Regions from separate parts of the Homo sapiens genome. Here region 1 is linked to region 2. The links are contacts of gene promoters, found by promoter capture Hi-C in blood cells and fetal thymus (Javierre and others, 2016). All regions are on one chromosome and are shown on one strand. Each heading gives the region's core, a stretch centred on a gene start or on the middle of the fragment in contact. The rest is flanking DNA. Distances are from core to core; before and after follow the strand shown.

The links. Contacts are between HindIII fragments. The CHiCAGO score rates a contact against its expected background, and 5 or more counts as called.
Region 1: a contact is called between a fragment that was not itself captured here and the fragment with the promoter of SLC25A48 in region 2, in 3 of 17 cell types (M1 macrophages, M0 macrophages and megakaryocytes). The highest score is 6.8, in M1 macrophages.

Annotation. Positions count from the first base shown.
Region 1 is chr5:135,579,233-135,584,784 of GRCh38, reverse strand. It overlaps a transcript of SLC25A48 not described here. Among named protein-coding and RNA genes, the nearest start is that of CXCL14, 3.0 kb to the right of the region's middle. RefSeq lists an enhancer at 1-42. The HindIII fragment of the contact is 3,440 bases long and covers 1-3,299 here.
Region 2 is chr5:135,831,046-135,836,210 of GRCh38, reverse strand. It overlaps SLC25A48 (solute carrier family 25 member 48), which reads right to left and starts at 1,548. Exons shown (of 8, transcript NM_001349336.2): 1 at 1,318-1,548. The coding sequence starts at 1,363. RefSeq lists an enhancer at 2,082-2,583. The HindIII fragment of the contact is 1,059 bases long and covers 1,358-2,416 here.

The sequences.
Region 1 (5,552 bases), core at 330-2,829, 250 kb after region 2:
GCATAAGCATTTACTCCACAAATTTAGAGCTTTCATTGTTTTCTTAATCCCCCATTGTTGGGCATTTAGTTTAAATCTTTATTTTTAACAAGGACTAGCTTTGCATGTGGTATTTCTCCATTATGAGAATTTTAAACAGATTTCTGAAGTGGTTAATAAGATGAAATGGTTTACTTCAAACAGTCTGGATACCATACTATAAATATAACTTCCCCAAATTTTGTACCAATTGATAGTCCCATGAGTGATGCTTAAGTGATGCTTCCTCACTTTACCATTATCAGCTTTGGATGTTGCTATTTAAAATAAACATTTCCTCATTGAGTGGGACCAAAACCAAAATGCCGTGATCCTGCAGCACTGCTGTGCTTTTCCTTCATTGCCAAAGAGGATGCATGTTCTTTGATGAATTGGTTAATTGCCTTTCTTTTTCTCCTGAATTGTCCTTTGATGTCCTTTGCTCATTTATATGTTAGGGCCCTCTTCGGAAATATCTTTGCATGTGTTCTTAATATAATAAAGATGCTTGCCTGTAAGGGAGTGTTGTTGGATGAATAGATGGTGGAATAAATGCTACTTGTTGGTTTGTCATATTTGCTGCAAGCATTTTCTCCCATGTTTAGGGGAATCTTGCAGTGCCCCCTGTGACCCATCTGAGTAACAGAGCCCCCCTACATACACTCTGCCTCGGGGCTGCTTTAAGCCTAATTCAATACTGCCTGGCTGTCCCCCACATCATTTTCTCTGGGCTTAAGTTACTCAGGATCTCTAAATATTTGCAGTGTGAAGAACAAAACCAGAGGTTGTTCTTGGGAACCTTGGTCCTTCAACTTCCTTCACCCCAGAGCATGGCCAGGGAAGGGGTCAGCATGCAGGGCTGTAGCTGAAAGAAAGCTGCACAGAGGAGGCAGCTGGCTGCCCAGACTCCACAGGCTGCAGGTGAACAGACAGAGGGAGGAGCTGGAGAGGGAGAGGCACCCGCCAGGCTTGGATTCAGAGCCAGCAGCCACACAACACAATGGAAGCAGGTATTTTGGGGTGACCCACCATGTCATGAGTGGTGATGGGGCCAGACAGGTTACTGGAGCCCAGGATCTTGCTCTGGCCTAAGTAGCTAGGTACAGGACACAGAGACAGGAGGCTGGCTAACATTAATGCACAGGGAGATCTTGTATGCAGTCAACCCCATTGCTGGGCCTCAGTTTCCTCATATGTACAATGAAGGCCAGTTGTGGCCTCAGCCTCTACCAGTGCTGAATTCTAGGATTCCTGTCCTGCCAGGGAAGTAAAAAGGACTCCTCTTCTGAAAAGAAGGTCAGTCACGAAAAGAACTAAAAGAATGGGGGAAGGAATTGCCCTGGATCCCAGCTCCCAGGGCAGAAAACCAGCCTTGACCAGTCAAGACCCCTTTCTAAGCAGACCAAGGAGGTAGTGCCCAGACACCTGTGGGATTTCCTGGAAAGTCACACTCCTGTTATCACCACCTCCTCTTCCCAGAGACTTCATCTCTAAAACAAATGCCCTGAGGATGAACTGGCTTCCCTGGGAATATGGACTCCCCATGGCCACCCCTACACACACGCAAACACACACACACACACACGCACACACACTTTCTCACATGCAACCTTGTAGCCTGTGCAGCCTGGATTCAGCAGTACTCTCACATGCTGAGCTGTTGCCTGAAACATGTTTTTATTTACTCCACAGATAGGGAGTGAACCCCTGCTACATGCCAATCACTGTTGTAGATACTGAGGATGAGCAAGACAGACACCCACAGACACAGACAGATCATCCACAATGCACCCCCAAATAAATATGAAAATGTACAATTTGAGGTTGCTGCACATACAATGAATAAACTAAAATCGGTGGCAACACAGAGAGGGACTGTTGTTGGGGGTATGCTCGTGGGATTAGAACTGGATGGTGAATATTGGAGCCCAGGCTCACTGAGGAGAAGAGGGTTGCCTGTCAGCCCCTGGGGAGGAGCACTGCAGGTGGAGGGGCCAGTGAGCACAAAGACCCTGAGGTGGGAACAGGCTTGGATGTTTGAAGGTAAGACAAGGCAGAGTATCTGGAGCACAGCCTGTGGGGAGCATGGCAGGTGCTGGTCATGATTGGGTGCGCACTGCTGGGGACTTGGCTTCCACTCTGCATGAGATCGGGAGCCAGTAAAGGGTTCAGAGCAGGGACTTCCCCCAGGAGATCACTGTGTGAGCAGCAGGGACCATGAAGGGCCAGGAGTGGCCTCCCTCCTGTGGTCACTGGTTAATTCCTTTCCATCCTTCATATCTAACTCAATGGCCCTTTCCTCCAGGAATTTGTCCCCACCTCGTCACCCTGTCAGATCCCCTGATGAGTCTCCTAGCACCAACCACCCTCCAGGACACTGACCTCTGCAGGAGTTTCACACTGATCTCTGTGGTTTATAGCTAATGTCTGCCTTCCCCACTAGACTCTGAGCTGCTTGGGGACAGGCACACAGCTGCCTTGGCTCACCTCAAACCCCCAGCACCTCGTACAACGCCTGGGACACAGTGGGTGCTCAATAAATGTAAAGAGAAGAAATAAGCAAATCCCTGGGGTCTCAGCAAAATTTCCACTCCCTCAAGGAGTGATGTCCTGTTTCCACTTCCTCCCTCCTCTGTGCCCCCACACTTCACGTCTACCTCTTCTGTAGAATCCAGTATGACCATGAATGTGTTGACATCTGCACACATGCATACACACACACAGGCAAGGCATGTGTGCTGTCCTTCACTGTACCCCAGGGACCTCCTTGAAGCAGACAGTGCCACTGTACAAAGAACGGCCTCACACATGCCCACCTGCTCAGAGGCCCTCGGCTTGGGCTCACTAGACAGTCTGTGCCCTGAAGGTGTGTCAGGGGCCAAGCCCCCTCCCTCACCCAGTTAGGCAGCATCCCCCACAGACCTGCTGGCAGCAGGGGCCTCATGCTCTCCTGTACCATGGCTCCAGAAGAACTCACACAAACAAGGGCTCAGCTCTGCTTGCACAGTGGCTGCCTTCTGCAAACCAGAGATCTGCATACACAGACTGAGGAGTGTAACTGAGGACAAAACACTGGGACGTCTGACCTCTGGTCCAGCCCAAGAAGCTGGGGAACGTTGGTCCATATTTCTAGAGCCAACTACTTTTTCCTGTGAAAACTCAGTGCCCACGATCGCTGGTGTTGTTAGATCCCAGTTAATCAATCAACATATTCTTGAAACAAACATGTTAGAAATAAAATCGTTAATAAAAAATAATACTTTACATGCTCTAGGAAAGCTTGGTATTTAAGAAATTCCTTTGCAGCATAAAATATATTTTTTTGGAAAGCAATTGGCAATTTCTATGAAAAGTCTTAAAATGGGCATGTGCCATGGCCCCATGATTCTATTTCTGAGGGCTGATCCAATGTATTAAAACCTACCCCAAAATGGAGCTACAAGAATATTTGTCAAACAGCATTGGTTGTAAGAGGGTAAGGTTGAAAACAATCCAAATGTCCAGCAAGGAGTAGTCAAATTAATTCTGGTACATCTGTATGACGGAATACTCTGCAGCTAAAATCATGATAACCGCAATGGTCAGCACATATCAAACACTTACTCTGTGTTGGGGACCACATTAAAAGCATTACATGCACTATCTCATTTAATTCTGCCTATGCTGTACATATTATTATCATCTCCATCTCACAGATGAGGAAACCAATACCAAATAGAGTTAAGGTATTTGCCCAAAGTCACACAGCTAGTCCCTAGGATGCATACTCAGGCAATTTGACTCCAGACACCAGCCTCTTAGCCATTATACTACCCGGCCTCAGATGAAACCATTAAGGGAGCTATTGTTGTAGCAAGGCTAGCCACATGGAGCGATGTTCACAATATGCTAATAGGTATAGCAAGCAGGTTATTAAAGACTACATGCAGCCTGATCCCATGTGTACATGTGCACACAAAGCAAAAAGAGGATGCTTTGGGAAGATTTCACCCAAGATTTTACTTGCGTGAAAATGTTAGTTTTCTTCTGCTTGGGTTTTCTGATTTTTCTGGGCAAACGTGTTGTTTCTATATTTTAAAAAATTATTTTTAGAGTTAAAAACTAACATAAATGCCAAAAGTCACTCCCTCATACTCATCTCATGCATAAATGCAAATGTCCAGCTATTGGCTTTGCTTTAGGTATAGGCACAACAGCACGCATAGGCGCTGCTTGCTTTTCATGGCTCAGCTTCTTCTTGAAGCAGCAAGGGCTCTCCAGTTGGGAAGAGACGACACAGATTCTTCCCATTGCACCCTTCAGCAGACTGTCCCCATCATCCAGAAGCCCTCTGGGCATTTTTGCCTCCAGGGAACTGCCAGGCTGATGGCATAGAGCTGGGTGAGCTCTCTCCTGACAGCCAAGCCCAGGGACTCCAAGAGCTTGAGATGATCCACCTCCTGTCTCTGGGTCTCTCAAGGCAGCAAGAAGTGAAGGGCAGACAGGCCTCAAAGCAACAGAGTGGTCCAGGGACAGGAGTCCCAGTTCTGCAGCCGTATATACTGAGGACCCTCCTGGCCTAGTCACCTGCTTCCTAGCTCTGTGACCTTGGACAAGTTATTTCTTCTCTCAGAGCATGTTTCCACACCTGTCAAATAAAGAAATTAAAAGTACCAACTTGGAAGAAAAGTACCAATTGGTAAGAATCAAAGTAATAGATAAATTAGACATAAAACGATGGTGCCAATAAGTAACATTTCCTGGGTACTGACAACATGTATGATTTCTATAGTTCTCACAGCCACCCTATCAGAAACACTGTGATGATCTGCACTTTACAGATGATGAAACAAAAGCTGAGAGCGGTAAAGTCACTTGTGCTGGAAAGTAGTGAGGAGGGAATTTCTGCCACTATGGCTGGGCTCACACCACTATACCTCGCATTCTGGCACAATGTCTAGAACATGGGAAGGCCTTCATCCAGATGGTTACCACTGTCATCGCTCTCCACTAGGGCTCTCTACCTGGCTTTGGAGAGTAGTGTGAGAGTGAGGACTCCTCCTGGTTCTCCCCACCACCCAGACACTCACACAGCCACCAGGCCACTGACCCACTTTAAGGAGCTTTCCTTTGGGAGTCACCAAAACTCCTCCCCAATACCCGTCCCCACCCCCGCATACACACACATACCCTCTTTGAGTCAGTTCCAGTGATCACAGTCAATGACTTTGCTGCTGGACAGTCTATGACAAGCCCCTGTCCAGAACTGGCCTTGTGTTCTGGCCCAGCAGGGGCCCTTGGGGGTCAGGCCTGCAGGCACTCACACTTGGCACCTGCTCCAAAACCCTTTCAGGTCTTTGAGGATCTGAGCCCTGGGCCTGGGTCTCCCGCCGGCTCGGAAAAGCTGGCCTGCCGGGCCAGAGAGAGAACCACACGATTCAGAAAAGCAGTGCCCTTCAGCAGCCTCTCCACCGTCTGGGCTCCCCAAAGGCAGAGCGGGACGCTGGAAATGTGTGCGCGCTGTGGTATGGGTGTGCAAGTGTGCGAAGGCGGCG
Region 2 (5,165 bases), core at 299-2,798:
GGAGGGGTATCAGAGTCTTGGAACTACTCTGACTCAGCCCTACCTTCCAGGGCATTTTTCAAACCAAGCCATTTGCATCCCTACCGAAGGTGGTCTGCTTATTTAAGGGGCAGCCCACGGAAGTGTCTCCTCTCTCTGCCTGCCCCGCTGAATGGTGGAATAATTGTCCAGTCAAAAAGGACCTGGATATGCCCAGCGGGCCTCAGGCTGCAGCCCCCTAACTGGGAAAGTTAGGAGAGGCGGGTCTCAGCCCCACCCAAGGGCATCTGTGCCAACAGACTTACTCAAGGTGAAAGGAGCCACCTCTGCTCAGGAAGGTGTGAAGCAGGGCCCTGCAGCCACCGGTCTCGGGAGAGAGGTGGTCTCCTGCTAGGTAGGAGGGGAGGAGTTGGGATCCAATCTGGTTTGTTGTTCTTTTCATCTTATTTTTTCACCCCTTTGGTGAGGGGCTACATTTGCCAACATCCCTTTTAGGATAACCCTTTTAGATGGGTCCAAAGAAAGACTTTTTTTTTTTTTTTTTTTTTTTTTTACAATTAGCAAAGTCCCTCAAACTTCCCCCTTTCCTAATAGCTGAGAAAAGAGGGATAGACCAATTGGAAAGAAAAATGGAGAAGCAAGGAAATGAATGCAACTCTCGCCCAGGCAACCCATCCCAGGCCCAGTAAAAGAGTGGCTTCGGGAGCTGTGGCGAAGGGATCAGCAGACCCAACAGTGCCCGGAGAAGGGGCCTTGGAGGTAGGCGATGGCTGACGGTTGGCGGCGGCTGAAGGCAATAAGTGCTCCTCGCAGCCTGGCAATGGGCACCTGCAGCCGGCGCTCCGCTCCCTGCTGTGAGAGCTCTGCTCCCTCCAGTCGGGACGCCCCGTTGGGCCGGCCTAATCTCGAAGCCTGGCTCCCACCACCCTGCGCCCCGGGATCAGCAGCCAAGCGCTACCCTCATACATAAGTTCCCGCGAGCCACGTCCGCAATTCAGGTGTGCACCAGGTCACTGAAGGGTGTGTGCGCCGCCAGGAGCCTCCATTGGCTGTGGGCTTTGACGAGCTGTTTAATCATTACCTCATCAAGTCCCACGGATCCTAACTTAATGAGCAAATCAGAAGCTCAGCCCGAAACGCTGTGAAGCTCTCAGAATTTAGCCCTGGCAACTGCAAGACCACCAGGGGGATCTCGGGGCCGGGCACTCCCCAAAGCAGGCTGCGCGCACAACGGGGAGCGGGATGGCAGCGCACAGAGGCAAAGTTTCCTCAGAGCATAGAGGCAAACTCCGCCAGGCTCGCTCTCTCTGACCGGGGGTCCCCGGTAAGCACACTCACCTCCGATCCAGCCCGCCGCAAAGTCTTCCAGCTGGAAGCTTCCCATGGCCGGCGCTCGGTCTCGCCCTCCCGGAGCCGGGGCAGTGCCCACTTAGAGTCAGTGGGGCATGGCCCGCGGGCGCGAGCGCGCCGCAAGACCGAAGTCGGAGTCTCGAGCACGCCGCAGGTCCTACTCCAAACCCAGTCCCCCAGTCACCGGCTGCGCGGGCTGCCGCGCTCACCTCTCCAAGTGCCGGAGGGCGGCTGACATCACGCCCCCAGTGGACCTTAAAGGCACAGCACTCTGGGTGGATAAGGGTGCGCTCCGCGCGGCTCATCCCAGACACAAAGAGGCAAGGGTCATCAAGTGAAATTCTCTTAGTCCTCCCTTCTCCGGGTTATCCTCTTCCTTGCCAACTTCAGAGCCTCAGCGCCTTTGAACTGAAAGTGCCAGCCGCCCATCCAGAGACGGCAATGCGCGTATCTCCCTGTACTGTGCTGTGCTGACAATGCTGATTCCAATCAGCTGTGGACTCTCTCCCATCCCAACTCTGGGCAGTGATGCCTTTTTGTTCATCTCAGCCATGTCCCACTCAGTACCCCGTGCCTAGAGCAGGCACCTGGTGGTTCAGGGTCATGTCTAACTTTCAGCTACAGCTCTCTAGGGGCCCAGCTCCCTGCCTGGCCCTGGCTCACCCTACACTGTCCGCCCTGGGCCAACAGAAGGCAGAGGTGGTGCTCTGTACCTCAAACTCCCTCTCTGTAGGCAGACCCTACATTCAGCCAGGCCCCAGGCCAGGGGTCCGTGCTCACTGGAGAAGTGGCCTGCTGTGCGGAGAGGCTTTTGATTACAATGAGAGTGTCTTTCCTCCCTTCCTAAGAAGACTCGAAGCCCCCCAGCGTTCTGCTAGTTTCCAGCAGGGACTCAGCTGTGGGTCTCAGCCAAGACACCCCAAGGTTGACAAGAATGGTGAAGGGTATGGTCAGGAGGAAGGGGCCTCTGCTGGGCCTGCTCTTGTCCCACTGGGCATATTCATGTCACGTCATCCAGGTTAATATGAAGCGACAGCCAGCCAGACCTCCTTCTTCCAAAGCAAGACAGAGCCTGACCACCGAAGCTTGATCCTACAAAGGCCTGTCCACTGAGGAGTGGGGACTTGGAGGTGAAGGGACCTTCCTGCAGCATCACTCCCTCCCCTGCCCCGGCACACAGAGAGTGGACCTGTATCGGGAGAGGACAGCCCGGGATGGAGTCGCCGGCCTGGCTAGGGAAGTATTGCAAAGTTCCAGGGAGGAGTGGAAGCATCACACCCCATCCCGGCACCTCAACTTCCTGCTGCTTATGGTGACCCACTCAGTCTTGAGGCTTCAGAGTTGCCATCAGCATCAACCCCAAGCTGTGCCCTGTCATGCCCGGGATATATGCCTAGGGCTGCTATGAGAAATGCAGGTCTCTGAAGAGTGGCCTTTTACTGAGTTCACCATTGGAATGCATCCACAAGTGGAAAGCCTGACAATTCTCAAAACCCACTCCTCTGGAAGACCACCTAAGGGGTGCCAGGCAGTTTGTCATCCCCTCAGTCCTGTGTCAGCACCAATTGAGGAGGTCTTACGTTGGCAGGCAGTGTCCCTGGCAGCCCAGGATGGCCTCCCAGGCCCAGAAAGCTGCTGCTTGAACTACTAACGAGCTGGAGCAGAGCAGGAGTGGGTTGCTTTCCAAAATGAATTACTGTGCTCCATTCCCATATGCATGCCACAAACCTGCCCATGGGGCGCATCACCCAGGGAAGTGAGGGGAGGACCCTAGGTTTACCAGCAACCATGGCCAGGCCTGGAGAATCCCAGACCACAGGGCTATGAGCCCAGGCAGAATGCTGGCTCTGTGGCCAGGATCCAGGCCATCCCTTCTTCCTGGCCTTCGCACTTCAGAGCACCATTTGCAGTGTGCTGCCATTCACATTTGCATTCTACACTCGGGAGAGGGCAGGGCAGCTACTGGCCATTACAGAGAGAAAGAAACTCCACAGAGATCCACTCCCTGCATGACTAGGGCCAGAAAGCAACCCCATTTTCTTTCTCCCTCAGTTCCTTCCCCAATGATGACCTCTCAGAGCACTTTCCTCAGTAGCAGGACATGCAGATGGGCTATGCTGATAGCATTTGTTAACTAGTGGCCCACTCCCCATTTCTTATTTACCCTTTCAGGCCACAGCAATTTCCTGAGCATCAGTCTGTGCTAGTGCCTTGCTTTGGGGAAAGTCTCTGTTTGAGAGGAGACAATCCATCTGAGATGCTACACAGAGGTGGCTGTAAGAGCACTGGAGAGGGAGTCCATCGTTCTACAGGAAGCAATCAGGGAAGGCTCTCCAAACTTGGAGTCTCCTGGCTGCACCTTTAGTCTACACAGCCCCACAGCTCCCACCTCCCCAACCACTCTCTCAGGCAAGCCAACAATCCCCTCCCCATGTCCACCTGCCACACTCGGGCAGCAAAGGCCTGGGTCAGCTGTCCATGCCTGACCTGCTGCAGTGAAGGCGCTGCCCATGCCGCCTGCTCCCCTCTGCTTCCAGATTCCTGCCCTCACCCAGCTTTCCTCCTGCTTCTCCAGCTCTTCTCATCTTCTTCCCTGGTGCCATGGCCCCTTCTCATGCTTAGGTGTGAATTCCTCAGGGCCCCATCTGGACCCTCACCCACCCGTACCTCCCATCTCTCAGCGTATAACCCCCACACCTTGCTTCAGAGTCCAGACATCCCTCTACTCAACACCTCCACCTGGGTGGCTCGGGTCATCTTAGCGCATCCCTCGATGAACTCTCTCTTCCTCCGCCAGTGCCTCTTCAACTTAGAGAAACACACCTCCACCCAGTGGCCACCCAAAACAGAACCTTGGATGCCATCCTCCATTTCTCTCTCCCAAGGTCTTATCCCACCAGCCGCAAAGTCCTGAGTGTCCATCCCCTCAATGACACCCAGCCCTCATTGCTGTCTCCGAATGTGGCTCAGCCCAGCCCTGTGCCACTGCCCTGCCTGGATCACAGTGGACACGGGTTCCTGGGTCCCTCTGCCCCTGTCCTACTGCCCCAGTGAGCTTCTGAAACTTTGAATCTGCTCAGTTTAGTGAACTTTGATGACTTTCTGTGATCTTGAGCATAAATTCCAATTCCCCAGTGTGTTGTGTGTAGCTCAGTAGGACTGGGTCTGGCTGCTTTTCCACTTTGCACCTCAATGTCTCACATTCTGTGCATGTGTGTGACTGCGCACATGCTATTCCCTTGTGGGGAACACCCTCTCCCTCCTCCCCTGGCTAATCCCTGCCCCCTTCTTCTTTAAGACTCAGTTCAGCTGTCACCTCCTGACAGGCCTTTCTTGAAGGCCTTCCTCATCACCCTATGCCACATGGTATCTTCTAGATCTCATCTGTGTTTCCTGAATATTCTGAGCATATCTGTATCTCTGCTGTCAGACTCAGTGGTTGATTGTCTTCCCATCCAGACTGTGAGCCCACTGAGAAGAGGGTACTGCCTCATTCTGCACTGGACCTGCAGAGCCTGGCGCAGGCCTGATGGGCAGTCAGTCACTGCTTAGTCCGCTGGGCCTTAAATGAGGAGACATGGGGAAAAGTCTGAAGGTCCTGCTGGTGGCTGGCAGACAAGGAGGGTGTCTGGATACAAGACAGAGCTGAAGAGGTGGTCACATCATTCCCAGGTGTGAGGACTCCCCCTGGCCTTTCCTGGAGCATCACAGAAGCCCGGCTTCTTTCAGGCCCTCAAAGGTACCAGCCACATTTCCCCCACAGAGCTTTTGCACTGATCACTCCCTCCACCTGCAGCTCCCTCTCCCTGCCCTCCTCATAGCCGACTCCTACCTCC